Linked DNA regions of Homo sapiens: region 2 is linked to region 1. Evidence: promoter capture Hi-C in 16 types of primary human blood cells and fetal thymus (Javierre and others, 2016). All regions are on one chromosome and are shown on one strand. The core of a region is centred on a gene start or on the middle of the fragment in contact, and the rest is flanking DNA. Distances in the headings are between cores, read along the strand shown.

Evidence for each region. Contacts are between HindIII fragments. The CHiCAGO score rates a contact against its expected background, and 5 or more counts as called.
Region 2: a contact is called between a fragment that was not itself captured here and the fragment with the promoter of BBS5 in region 1, in 1 of 17 cell types (M2 macrophages). The highest score is 5.2, in M2 macrophages.

Annotation. Positions count from the first base shown.
Region 1 is chr2:169,478,016-169,485,340 of GRCh38, reverse strand. BBS5 (Bardet-Biedl syndrome 5) reads right to left here and starts at 5,847. Exons shown (of 12, transcript NM_152384.3): 1 at 5,729-5,847; 2 at 3,008-3,090. The coding sequence starts at 5,787. RefSeq lists enhancers at 5,574-5,913, 5,924-6,033. The HindIII fragment of the contact is 729 bases long and covers 5,180-5,908 here.
Region 2 is chr2:170,014,042-170,021,244 of GRCh38, reverse strand. UBR3 (ubiquitin protein ligase E3 component n-recognin 3) reads right to left here. Exons shown (of 39, transcript NM_172070.4): 30 at 5,879-5,964. Among named protein-coding and RNA genes, the nearest start is that of MYO3B, 160 kb to the left of the region's middle. RefSeq lists an enhancer at 6,590-7,203. The HindIII fragment of the contact is 1,902 bases long and covers 514-2,415 here.

The DNA.
Region 1 (7,325 bases), core at 4,598-7,097:
TTTATTATTGTTAAATGAGATTATATTTATATAAAAGATTCAGAACAGTGACTGTCAATAAACATTCCCCAAATAATAGCTATTTAAAAAATAATCCTTTGCAAACTCATTTTTAACTTTTTTTGGTTTTTATATAGATATACCTGTTTTCCTTACGCCATTTTACCTAGGCAACATTTTATCTTTACAAGTGGGCTATGGGCTCAGGACATCTATTGATTCTTTTATATTTTTCTGTCGGTCCCAGGAGAAATTATGGAGTGGGAAGGGTTTGCCATATAAAACCACCAACCACCTCTGTTTGCCTTTTTCTTTGCTCTTGGTATATCTCCTACAATCTCTAGGATTTTTAATGCTACCTCTTTTCTGCTGAAGAACCCCAGCCTATGGCTCCAAACCCAGTGTTCCAGACATGGACTTTCCTCTCTACCCTGCCTAATACCAAAGTATAGTTGTCCCTGTTTCTACTAATCTCCCAAACACTGAAATATGGCTGTCCCTTTTATTCTCACACAGCTATTTAATATAATATTTTAATTCTTTACAAACTCATTTCTATGACTTACTTTCTGATTATAGATACATTGGTTATATTTTCCTTATGCCATTTTACACCTAAGCAGCATTTTATCTCTATAACTGGGCTATGAGCTATGGGCAGTGTGCAAAGTTAATCTGATAATTTCAAGTCAGGGTACTAACAGTTGAAAATGGATTAAATATGCTAATCTTCTGGGATATAGTTTTAACATAAGGGGCTCTTGAACTTGGCAATGTCTTAACTTGGTCATTTTCAAACTGCTGAAAGGGAGGGGAGGGAGATGGCTAGAAGGCAGGATTCCCCTTCCATTTTTTAACTCCTTAATGACCAGAAGCGCTGCGTACTCCTGTAAAATTTCAAAAGGTTTTTGAGGTCTGTGCACACACACACACACACAGTTATTTCTATTTTAACTTTGAGACAGGGTCTTGCACTGTCACCCAGGCTGGAGTGCAGTGGCATGAACATGGCTTACTGAAGCCTCAACCTTCTGGGCTCAAGTGATCCTCCCACCTCAGCCTCCCCAGTAGCTGGGGCCACAGGCGCACAACACCACACATGGCTAATTCTTTTTATTTTCTGTAGAGACAGGGTCTTGTTATATTGCCAGGCTGGTCTCTAATTCCTGGCCTTAAGCAGTCCTCCCACCTTGGCCTCCCAAAGTACTGGAATTATAGGCAAGAGCCATTGCAGTTGGCCTATTTTTATTAATAGTAGGATTTCAGGCACTGGAGATTTCTGATCAGGGAAGCTTTCTGCCCTTCCTACTCTAAAGTATTAGTATAGGATTCTGCGCTCAATGAATATCTGAGGAATCGAAAAATGTTTTATGAAGAGTTCCTGCCAATCTGTATGAGACTTTCTATTGGCTTTCTCAAGTTAATTCTGAGTTCGTCAAGATACAGCCATCTTGATAGTTGGGATTATTATTCCACCCTCAAAAGCACAAACTAAGACTTTTCGTTTGCTGCCAGATCTTCATACTCCACTCTCATCTGAGCTTGATGTACACCAGGAAGCATTTCAGAAGTGTGATCTAAGCATTACTTTAAGGATGAGCCCTAGCCACTAAAAGGATCTGCCTGTAGGTGGTGGCAAGTAGGCAGCAGGCCCCTTTCTAAGCCTTTCTTCTGAGGGGAACTGCCCTCACCTCTATCTCCATTATTTCCTCTGGTGTCTTCAACCGAATCTAAACAATCAATAAAGACATCGCCAGGTCTTGTTTTCATTTGCCTAAAATGAATACAAAGGTCTGAATTTTATAGCTACCACTATACCTACTTGCCATCTATTAGGGACATATTTACCATCTAATATGTCTCTACTAAGAGACATATGTACATTAGCCAGGAGCAGTGGCTCATGCCTGTAATCTCAGCACTTTGGGAGGCCGAGACAGGTGGGTCACTTGAAGTCAGGAGTTCGAGACATATGTACATAAAAGAGCCAGCAGCATAAATAATACTGTACCAAAAGTTCATGCATTTAAAAATAAGGTCTCTGAGGGGAACCAATCTCAGAGAAGCAGGCTTACAACAGGGCCTGCTGCCTACATGCCACCTCAGAGCAGGTCAGAAGAAAGTCTCAGGAAGCAAGCAGCCACTCAAAGGGCTACAGTAAGCATGTTCTGCTAATAAGGTTTACTGTTCCTTCTCTATGAGTTATTGATTCCCCCTTTCCTGAATGAAGTCTGCTCTATTTCCCCTCTTACCCCTTTCCAATAAGAGGTTTACATCCCTCCCTCCTAAACTTCTTCTCCCACTAAAACATATTCTGGATACATTAAGCTGTCATTCCACATCTATTTTTTTTTCCTTGGAAGTAATGATGCTTTCAAGACCTACTGGTCACTGGCTCCACAGATAGCTGCTATGGGCAGCCTGGACTTTTAAAAGTTCCAACCTTAGGGAGATTTGGTTTGGGAGGGGCTCTAGGGTCCAGCTGTGCTGGTCCTTGGTGACAGTCAGAGAAGACTCACAGGATTTTCTAGTACTTGACCTACAAATAGATTTCACAGTGCAGGACTAAATTTGCTCTCCGCATATCCATGTCTAGGTGACAACCATAGGTGATTGATGGTGCATTACTTCTGAATTTTTGAAAAGGAAGCATGGCTCCAGGTACTACAGCTATGACCTACTTATATTCCACTACCCCATATCCTTTTTTGGGAAGACAGATCTAACGGTCAGAACTAATGCCCCTTGCAAACAGGTCTACTTGAGTTTTAACAGCTACAATGGATAAAGGTGATGTTAGAACCAGGACTTACTGAAGGACCAAACTACATGTTTAATACCTATCCTGTCTTCTGTTTAAATCTGAGAAAAGTCTTATGTGAATTTAACTCTCCTATTCTCACAATTACACTGACAAATGATGCTGTTTCATATATTCTCTAGCTAATATGATTCAACATTTGTAAATTAAACCAGGAATATAAGATACATTTAAAAATATACTCACCTCTATCTCCATTATTTCCTTTGGTGTCTTCAATGGAATCTAAACAATCAATAAGGACTTCTCCAGGTCTTGTTTTCATTTGCCTAAAGTGAATATAAAGGTTTGAATTTTATAGCTACAACTATACCTGCTTGCAATCTATTTAGGGAGAAAAGAGACATATGTACATAAAACAGCTAACAGCATAAATAATACTGTACCAAATGTTCATGCATTTAGAAATAAGGTCTTCAAGAACTTCAAGAACCTGAAGATCAGTGGGGCCTGGAGTGACCAGGGCCATCTGGAGTAAGCCAGATTGGTAGGAGGTGTTGAATTTTGAAAAATAAAAGGAAAAGAAAAGAGAGTCCATGATTAAAGACCAGGAATAAGAAATGGTAAGGACATGGGAGAAGGCTGGCCAAGCTTGGAAAGAAGGACCATATTGGGAGGTAGTGAGAGAAATATTGTTGGATAACTAAGGAGGAACCAGACTATGGAGAACTCAGAATGCCAGTCTGATAGGTTTAGGCCTTATCCTGTGCACAGGAGAGAACCTCCAAAGGTTTCTGAGTAGAGGAAAGGACATCAGGAAATTATAGAAGGAATGGTTAAAGAAGAGCTGTATGAAAAGCATCTTTGGAATTTGACAAATAGATACAGGTGACAAAAGGAAATAAGAGCAGCTTGCTGACAGACAGAATACATTCTACAGTGTCCAAAAAAAAAAACCTAGCAAAATATCTAAAAGAGCCTTCTAATACACTCTTCATAAAGCCAACTCAACTACCTATTGAAAATACAGATATGACCATATCATTTCCCTGCTTAAAAGCTTTCTATATCTTCCTGCTGCCTAGAAGTTGAAGTCCAAAATCCTGAGCTAAAAATGTTACAATCTGGCTAATTTATCTATTTGTACTTCCAACCTCTCTCTGCAGCAGACCCTGCCTTTAGCTAATGAGGTTACAGCTCCAAGACTGCTTCTAACGCTAAATTCTTTTCTTCTTTTCTGGAATACTCTCCTCCTGTCTACCCTGACAAGGCTCTGCCCATTCTTCAGGGAACAACTCAAATACTATGAATATTTATTCTTCTTCAAGGACTTCACCAGGTAGAATAAATTGTTCTGTTTCTATGAGTCTCAGCTTTTCGCTCATTTTTTCAGAATGGTATTTACCACATTTATTATAGTGGTTGTCTGTATGTATCTCCTGCACTAGAACGGGGGGATATGAATATCATTTCCTATTATTTTCTGTCTCTAGCTATCGGCCCAGTAACTAGCACGTAATAAAACATGGATAAATGTTTACTAATGTTACTGAAACGGACTTTTGTTTGGATTAAGAACCCTACAAGAAAGACAGAAAATGTCGCCGGGCGCAGTGGCTCACGCCTGTAATCCCAGCACTTTGGGAGGCCGAGGCGGGCGGATCACCTGAGGTCAGGAGTTCGAGACCAGCCTCAACATGGAGAAACCCCGTCTCTACTAAAAATACAAAATTAGCCAGGCGTGTTGGTGCGTGCCTGTAATCCCAGCTACTCTGGAGGCTGAGGCAGGAGAATTGCTTGAACCTGGGAGGCGGAGGTCGCAGTGAGCCGAGATCGCGTCATTGCACTCCAGCCTGGGCAACAAGAGCGAAACTCTGTCTCAAAAAAAAAAAAAAAAAAAAAAAAAAAAGAATGACAGAAAATGTCATAGAAAGTGCGCAATATGTTACTACAGTCCGTAATTTTACGAATTCCTTTCTCTTTCATCTTCTTAAAGGGTCTAACATGTTAGCATTAGATATCTAGCTATACTTAACCTGAGAAATTTATCAATATTTCATTTTTCCATCTAAGGAGGTGAGGTCCATGATAAGGAACGATTCCATCTAAGGAGGTGAGGTCCATGATAAGGAACGATTCCACCTAAGGAGGGGAGGTCCATGATAAGGAACGATAAGAAGTAGCTAAGAAGCTCCATGCCATTAATCCAGGAATCTTAGCTTTAGCGTTTCTCAACACTTAGTAACCCAACCGGCATTTCCCGCCCTGGATTTTGGAGTAGGAGGTTTCTAACCACTTTTTCTTTACGATACTTTCCAAAAACATGGTTTCTATTTAATGTATGATAATTTCCAAAAACAGGTTGCAAAAGAAGACTCCTTCTTGTTGGTGACTGATATGAATAACTAGATGAAAGCTTACCAAGGACATAAAGTTTGCGCGGTTAGTAATTTTTGACGACTGCCTTACTCCCACCTCCCTTATTTTACAGACATGAGGATTCTAGCTTGAATGATGAAGACATCTGCTCAAGGGCCCACACTGTGGGTCGATATTACACATCTACTTTTAGAACCCTAGTTTCCTGAGTCCCTGACCTACGTTCCTTCCATGAAACTGAAATCCCAAGCTCACGTGGGTGTATACGGGACGCTAAGCCCCGGGTGGCCCCGGTCGTGCTCAGGTTCACATTCCTGATCCGTCCCGCGGGCCAGGATGGGGGAACCGGAGGTCGCATGGGACCAAAACTGTGTAATGCCGATGCGCTCTTGCCGCGGCGCCGGCCTCGAGAGGGCCACAGTGGCCCAACCAGCCTGAGGTCTCTCGAGGCGCGGACGACCGGCGCAAGCCTCCCACCCTCACCAGGGCCGCGAGCTGCGGAGGTGCAGTCTCCGCCCGCGGGTCCCTAACGCGCACGGCGGCGCCCTCTACAGGGTTGAAGATCCCTCGGGAATCTTGGAAACTCACTGCGCGGACAGGTCGAAACGGACATCCCGATCCTCCCAAAGCGCATCCAGCACCGACATGGTGAACAAGGCCCGTGGCAGGATCTCTCCACAGCCGTGCAGGCCTAGCTGCGTCTCTCTGGCTCCAAGGCAACGGGCCGCCTCTGTCACGACGTCTACGGCGGGCGCCGAGACTCAAGCTTCCGCGAGAGTGCGCGCGCGTCGCCCAGCTCTTTCGCGTCGTTAAGCCGATTTGAGATGCGAGGCAGGATTTAGGAGTCTCTGAGAAGCCCAGCTGTGTCCGCCAAGGGGAGCGTGCCTGACCTCTGGGCGACCTTCCTTGCCTCCAAACAGACATCCTTTAGCCATTTTACCCCTCTCCTTATTTCTCTTCACCGTCAAGAGATTCAGGTTATTAGCCGGGCATGGTGGCTTCTGCCTGTAATCCCTGCAGTTTGGGAGGCCGAGGCTGGAGGATCACTTGAGGCCAGGAATTCGAGACTAGCCTGGGCAACATAGCGAAACTTCATCTCTACAAACACAAACAAACAAACAAAACCAACCCAAAATTAGCCAGGGGTGGTGGTGCACGCCTGCAGGCTCAACTACTCGGGAGGCTGAGGCGGGAGGATCTCTTGAACCCAAGAGGTGGAGGCTGCGGGGAGCTATGATCGTGCCTCTGCCCTCCAGCCTAGGTGATAGAGATATAGGATCAACAGGTTCGTATGCCTGCTGTGCAGTAACAAACCCATTACACGAAGACAGCAGAGTTTGCAGCAGGGAAAGAGTTTAATGATTGCAGGGCACCTAGCAAAGAGATGGGAAGAGATCCTCGAATCTATCTTCCCAAGAGTTCTGGGCTGAGGTTTTTAAGAGGATCACAGAGGGCGAGGGGCTGGAAAATTGGGGTCCTTGATTGGTCGGAGTAAGGGAGATGAAATCATCAGGATAGGGAAGCTGCATTCTTTGCTGAATCAGTTTCTCACGGGTTCCTCAGACCAGCTGGCATCAGTGGGATCCTTCAGGCCAGCTGAGGCAGTAGTTTCATTGGTATGCAGGATCTGAAAGACTATCTCAAAGGGAAAACTGAGTATTTCATAATGTTCAAGTTGTTCTCTATAGAGCAATAGAAGGGAACTATAATCTTGTGACAGGGTCTGCATGATTCTAGGACAATAGGCACCAAACAACTCTGAGCAAGCAGGTCAGAGAGGAAGCTGACCTCATGATTAATGCCGAATTGGCTGCAAGCTTGGTTTATTTTTGTCCCCTCCCCCACACTTTCTTCCCTGATTACTTTTATAAATTTTATTGGGATGGTTTTAGAATGAGGAAAAAAGAAATTTAGAGTTAAAGCTTCAAATTCCTTACCTGGGCCTAGCTCAATGTGGCCCTGCCTATGTCTGCAACCTCCAACCACCCTCACTTCTGGCTGCTCTCTTGCCAGACAGGGCTCAGAGACTTTGGAGGGCCCCCTTCCTTTGCCTGGAACACTGTTTCCCCAGACCTCTGCATAGGCCTGCCCTTTGTCACTTAAATCTCTGCTTGGGCTGGGCGCTGTGGCTCAGGCCTGTAATCCCAGCACTTTGGGAGGCCGAGGTGGGCGGATCACCTGAGGT
Region 2 (7,203 bases), core at 215-2,714, 540 kb before region 1:
CCTTATCCACACACCCCCCAATTTGACAATTATAGTGTTGAAATAGGAGAAATATTAATGTTGAGATTTACAATCTATAGAAACTAGAATATATATTATAAAATTGAATTCTTACAACAATCCTCTGATTGGGTATTAATGAGGAACAGAATCTCACTCTCTAGTTTACACTATGCTGCCTTTTAATATCACCATCCTTTAAAAGGCTTACCAAACTCCTCACCTATCTCAAACAGTACTCCTTATCTCTGAAAGTGTTCAAGCACAGTGCAAACGATTGGAATAGTAGGTACAAGATGCCTGAGCTAGATAACATTTAGACTAGGAGATTTCCTAAGTAACTTTTAGCTCAAAGATTCTGATTCTATTTATCATGTGATTTCACTGACAGCCTCTATTTTTTATTTATGCACTATTTAAAATGAAGAGCAAAATAAAATATAAAACAAAATACCAAAATCTTCTGAATTTGTAAGATGTATCAAAAGAAAAGAAAAACAAAAACTCCAAGCTTTGATTTATTCTACAGTGTATGACTGTAGATAAAGTATAATTCTAAAAGTTCCTAGAGTATAACTCCTAGTCCAGCTATTTGCCTTTTATGCTTAATGTCAATGATGTTAATTAACAGGGGGGAAAAGCTCCAGATTTGAGCTTTGCATGTAACAGTTAACAACCATGAACATCTGTCAGGAGACAGAGCATCCAGCCTAGTACACTAATTTTATAGATGAGGAAACTGAAGCCAAAAACATAAAATGTCTTGCCTAAGCACATGCTTATGATCCTAGTTTGCTGTTGTCTATTCCACCACATATGTATCTTTCATGTTGGCCCTAAATACATACCAACTTGCTCTTCAGAACATAAAACATTCCCAAATACCACAAAATCACCTTTTAGCCATCAAATCTGATCAATAACTAGTCTCAGGAGACAATTTACACATTTTTGTATTAATTTATACCTTTTGACCATTATAATAATTTGATGGCCAAATTTTCCTTTTTTATGGTAACAAAAAAAATTGAACAAAATTGTGGTTCAATCTGCTTGCAGAAATTGGTATTTTTAAATTTGAAAAAGGCCTTCATAAGCCATCAGTGTCAGAATTTTACTACTAAGTGTGAAAGAATAAGGCCAGACTACTTAAAAGTAATTTTAGCCCAGGCATAGTGGTTCATGCCTATAATCCCAGCACTTTGGGAGGCCAAGGTGGGAGGATTGCTTGATGCCAAAAACTTGAGACCAGCCTGGTCAACATAGTGAGACCCCATCTCTACAAAGAAATGTATTAAAAAATTAGTCGGGCCTGATGGTGTGTGTCTGCTGTCCTAGCTACTCGGGAGGCTGAGGTGGAAGGAATGCTTGAGCCCAGGAGTTCGAGGCTGCAGTGAACTATGATTGTGCCACTGCACTCCAGCTGAGTGACAAAGGGAGAACCTGTCTCTCAACAATAAAAGGGTAATTTTGTAAAAACTCATTATTTGTTTAACATCTTTATGCTCCCTAACTGTAGGGAGAAATTAATGTCAAAATAATTTTCTATAATTTTTTTTTGAGACAGTATCTTGCTTTGTCACCCAGTCTGTAGTGCAACGGCACAATCATGCCTCACTCCAGCCTCCACCTTCTGGGCTTAAGCGATCCTCCCACCTCCATCTCCTGAGTAGCTGGGACCACAGGCACACGCCACCACACCCAGCTAATTTTATTTTTCTTTTTAGAGATGAGGTTCTCCCTATGTTGCCCAGGCTGTTAACAACTTTTGGACTCAAGCGATCCTCCCAACCTCAGCTTCCCAAAATGCTAGGATCACATGAGTGAGCCACCGCACCTGGCTAATTTTCTGTAATTTTAAATTCACCAAAAATTCACTCTTTGAGCAAGTAGAACTATTTTAAGTTGCCTGCACAGATCTAAGCTGGGTTGCTTGCTATGAAAAGCAAATCTGGTAGAAATTATTTACTGCAGTGACTATGCATAATTTCTTGATCAGATCATAGATTACATCAAAATTAAGTCAGAACTTCCCAAATGAAAATGTCAAGGCAAGAGTTTGCCTTATCCTCTTCTTGACTAACATTTCATTTTTAATCTTTCTATAAAATCATGGAATCCATTTGAGACATGAACTGTGGTTTCTTAGTTAAATGACAGTAATAAGCAGACAAATTCTCAGACCCAAAGACAGGAAGAGACGTTTACCTACAAATGAAATAATTTTTTATATTATGCTCCAATATTAATAATTTATCAAATGGCATTGCCAATGGTTTCAACAATTTCTACTTGAGAAATACACTGAGAATATCATGCCAAAAATGTGCTGAAAGAATGTGAACTTCACTAGAATTTATGGAGTGTCATATTTACTTTCAAATCACTTTAATGAAGAAATTAATACAGTAAGCTTAATATTTTTAATAAAAAGTTATGCCTTTAATTTTTACATCTGCTTTTTCCAACATATGTTGCTAACCAAGTTGGTGGTACTTACTGTATATACGAATTTGTAACAAAAACTCTAAACCTCACTTATCTTTCAAAGTCTTGTTCAAATGCCTTGTCCACCAAAAGCTTCACTGATTCCAGCAGATAGATATGATCACAAACCTCTAAATTCCCTAGAACTTCTAGGAAATTCACTGCTGGAATCAGCGAAGTTTTTGGTGGACATGGCATTGGAACAAGTCTCATCTGCTGAATACAAGTCCAGCAGATGAGAACCAGTCTCTAGAACCAGTATCATGTGCTGAATACATGGTCCTGAATGCCTGATCTTCCCTGGTGGGTAAGGAGGAGGGCTAGAGCTCTGACCCAGGAATCGGCAGCTATGCTATATGTGAGAACTAACGCACATGGCTCATAGCAAGAGCAAGGGGAACCAGCCAGCAAACTGGCAAGGAATAAAGAAGAGCTAACTGGTATCCAGGGCAGAAGGACTCAGTACTTGCAAAAATGTCTGAAAAGATGGCTCAAAACAAAAACAAAAACAAACAAACAAAAAAGGATTCACGGTGAAAGGCTGACAAAAGAAAATAGACAAGATAAATAGGAGAGTTAGCACAGAAGGGCCTGGAAAGATCCCAAGGCAATGTTGTACAGTAGAGTGTCTTTGACTAAACCAATGGCTGAAAGGTCTTAAAAGTTCTGCATCCTTTGGGACACTTAAGGGCAGGAGATATGTCTTATATAACTGAATTAGAGTCAGAAGAGCTGGGCTCAAGTGCAAGCTCTGACATTTTCCAGCTGTGTGACTTGGCAAGGCAATCACTCTGAACTTGAGATTCCTTTTCTATGAAAAAGAGATAACACCTATTTCACATGGTCGTTCTAAAGATTAAATAATTTATGTGAAAGAACTTTACAAACTTTAAAACTACAAATGTAGGATATTATATTATTAAAATACCATACTATGCTGCTATGTGAGCTAATTTGAGTAACTTTTTACTATGGAAAATTTCCCAGACACGTATTTTTAGGACTGACCTTTTATTTTGATTGACACTGGTTAACTACTCTCAACTATTTAAAAATGTTTGAAGATGTAGTTGAATGGCATTGTTCCATTTCAATTTTATTTCTCAGTAGAGATTTGGCCATTAATATTTTTTGCTTTCATTGTTGTAGAAAGAACAATCTTCCCTTCTCCCCCTGTGTGTGTGTGTGTGTGTGTGTGTGTGTGTGTGTGTCTGTGTGTGTGTGTGTGTGTGTGTCCGTAATTATATACCAGGCATTACGCAATCCTCTCTAGACAAAATTTATTAAAAGTTTTCTTGACTAGACAAATTTTCAGTTTCATCAAGAAGTCGTAACAGAACAGTATTTCAAAAGTGTGATATTCTTAGAATGAAAAAAGTTCCCTTATCATTTGCTTAATCAGTGAGGCATTTTCTCACTCTCCTCAAAAACATTATGGAAGAAAAAACATTAAAAATTAGATGTTCAAAAAGCAATAAAGAGCAATCAATGGGAAAAGGAAAATATGAATACAATAAGATATTTCCCTAGAAAAAAGATAGATTTTTTTTTTTTAATAATACCACTGAAGTTGCACTGGAAGATGAAAAAAATGAGATATTTGCAGTGAGATCCCATGAATCATCATCAATTTAAGTCCTGGTGTACAACTTAAGTTTGAATTTTATTTGAATAAATAACAAATACTAAGTTCATACACTTGTAAGATAGTGGGATTTTGCATATATACAACATATTCTATATATATATATGACTTACAGGCTGCTTTTATTAATATTAGGATAAATAAGTAACTGAACAATAATAAATTATACAAAAACTAAGAAATATTAACTTACATTTAGGATAAACTTTATCATGACTTTTTCTATATTGGCACAGTATAATTTCTGATTTAGTAAAGGGAAAAATAATGAAGCAAAAGTCTGAAAGTATAAATTTAACAATTTAAATTACAAAATTGACTCTGGTAATTAAAGTGATTACCACTAGAATTTTATTACTATTTTCAGGAATCTGGATAAATTCATTATTTACAAGCCTCTAGATAAGTTTAAGTGCCTCAGAGAAAAAAATAAGTAGATTTTTAAAAACAGAAAACCCTTCGCTAAAGTAAACACTTTGTAACACAACAGTTTCTGGAATATTATCAGCCAATGCCAAACATCAATTAATAACAAATTAACAAGAAGGAATAATTTATATAACTAAAATGATTATTATATCTATTAATTCAAACAGATTAGAAACTAAAACTCCCATGTATCAACAACTTCCTTTGAAACATACTAGTAAAGCACTGAATAGAAATAGGGTTTAGATGAATGCATAAAGGGGTCAATTTTTACTAATACTCGGTTAAAAAATAAAAATAATAACCTCCAAAATTTTAAGTTCTAGGAATAAAGTGACAATCCAAAAGAAAATATCAAATTCTACTGCAATTTATAAGACTTTAAAGATAACCAAGTTAAAATTTCACATAAGTTTGCTTTTATGTTAGAAATTTTAAAGTGCTTTTGATCATCCCTTTGCTTTGGAATCAATTCAAAATTACATATTTTTTGAAATAACATATATTTTGTTAAAAAACCAACATGTATTGATAATTTTTAATACTTACTATTTTTTAGTATTTGAGAATATATATTCATTTTTCAAAAGAATATATTATGTGTTTTAAACAAGTTTTATTTCCTACACCAATCACATTAGGTAATATTTCAACTTCAGTGATCTGGGGCAAATAATCAGCTATATGCTGATATTCAATAATATTATTCCTACTATGCACATTAATTCTCTAAACAATGACTAAAAAATGATAGCATCAAAGCCATGCTCATGAAAAATCTACTTTAAATTACAAATTACACTTCTCTCAAATATATCCTTACACACAAGATTGAAGAATTATTCTCATTTTATAACATAAAGTATATATATAAATAAAAGCAAACGTGCAATTTCAATACATTTTAATATACACATCAAAATATAGCACAAATATCTTAATAGCAATAATATAATAGAAATCTGTGGGTAACATATATTGTCTTTATAAAAATATTTTCTTAATTCAATGTAAAAATTCTTTAAGAGAATTAAAGTTTAAGAACAATTTTTTATAGCTGAGAATCATACAGTGCTTTAATTTTGAAACCTCGTCACTTAGCATCACATTTATGTGCTAGGTAATCATAATCTAGAAAGAGCTAAATATCCATATGATTCTTCCAAGTACAAGATTAGCCATTTAAAGTATATATCACTATCTAAATAGATCATATATAACAGACAAAATTTGAAATATACCAAAATGTCACTTTTCCTGTCAATGCTTCCAAAAATGACAGAATTTTTTTTAAATTTAGCAGTATTTAGTACTTACTTAAACAAGACCTTTTGCCAGCTGTGCTTGCACCACCTGAACACAAATTGCCTCCTCGATGAATCAATTCAAGTTCTAAATTGGTTCTGTAAGTAAAACATTATATCTCAGTCATTAAACTGAAGATTCTTTATTAATCTGCTTTATTGACATGTCTGAATCAACCTAAAAAATAAAGTTCTTCAACTTTATTTTTTGCAAAAGCAGTTTTTATGTTGTATCAGTAATAATCATATTTATCTGATATTTAGAAATACAAAGGGAACAATTTATCCATCCTTACTTATATGTTCATATTTACACCTGCAAAAAATTGCACACATCATGGTGTAATTGTTGCAAAGTCCCAACTCTTGGCACATACTAAAAACTAGGCCTTAAGAAAAAAAAAAAAACTGCAACATATTTCATAAACCTGCATATGAATATGAAGAAAGAATTTTTACTCCAACGTCAGCCACTGTGTAGGTGGTTATTGCCATATAAAACACAAAGGCATACCAATTTTTCTATCAGAGAAATGGTTATCATTCATTGGAGGTTAGATGGTATCTGGAAATCAATATTAAGAAACAAAATCACTAATATAGAAATGGCTATGAACAACACATATAATTTAACAGCAGTCTCTCTTACGGACTTCTAAAACTAGTTTCATTAAAATACACTGTGTAACTACTGATATGGCTAACCATCAATACTGTTCATACAGACCTGAAATTGCAAGGTATTTAGCAATTATTAGCTTACAAAATAGCAATATTTAATAAATCAACATTTCAAAAATCAAACTAATGCAGAATCTAAGGATTTACCCAAAAACAGTAACAGTAAAAGAACCAATTAATTATGCCAAAATAAATGACAACTCTGAGAAATAATTTAAATTGTATTTTTCTTCAACAGTATGAATACACTTAGACATACCTTTATTTTCTACAACCAAAACTGACCCTAATATGCATTTGACCCTAATAGTGAGATACTGTCTCCCACTTAAAAAAAAAAAAAAGAAAAAAAAACAGTTTCAAGCTTACTCTTTGCAAGTGAATTCATGAAAGACTATTATCCTATTTTATTTAAAACAAAACATTTTGCACTGATTTGGCTGAATTTTGAACATGGACTTTTTTGGAGATTATATTTCCATGTATTTACTTATAAATGCAAATTGTTAAAGAATATTAATATTCCTAAGTCTGTACATTTGCCACCCATTTCTAAAGGAATGCTTTAATCCTCTCTACTCAGGGTGGGAGAAAAAGCAATTTAACACCGATAACGTTCCAGCTCAGAGCTCCATCTGGTTGCTGCTGATAAGGGCA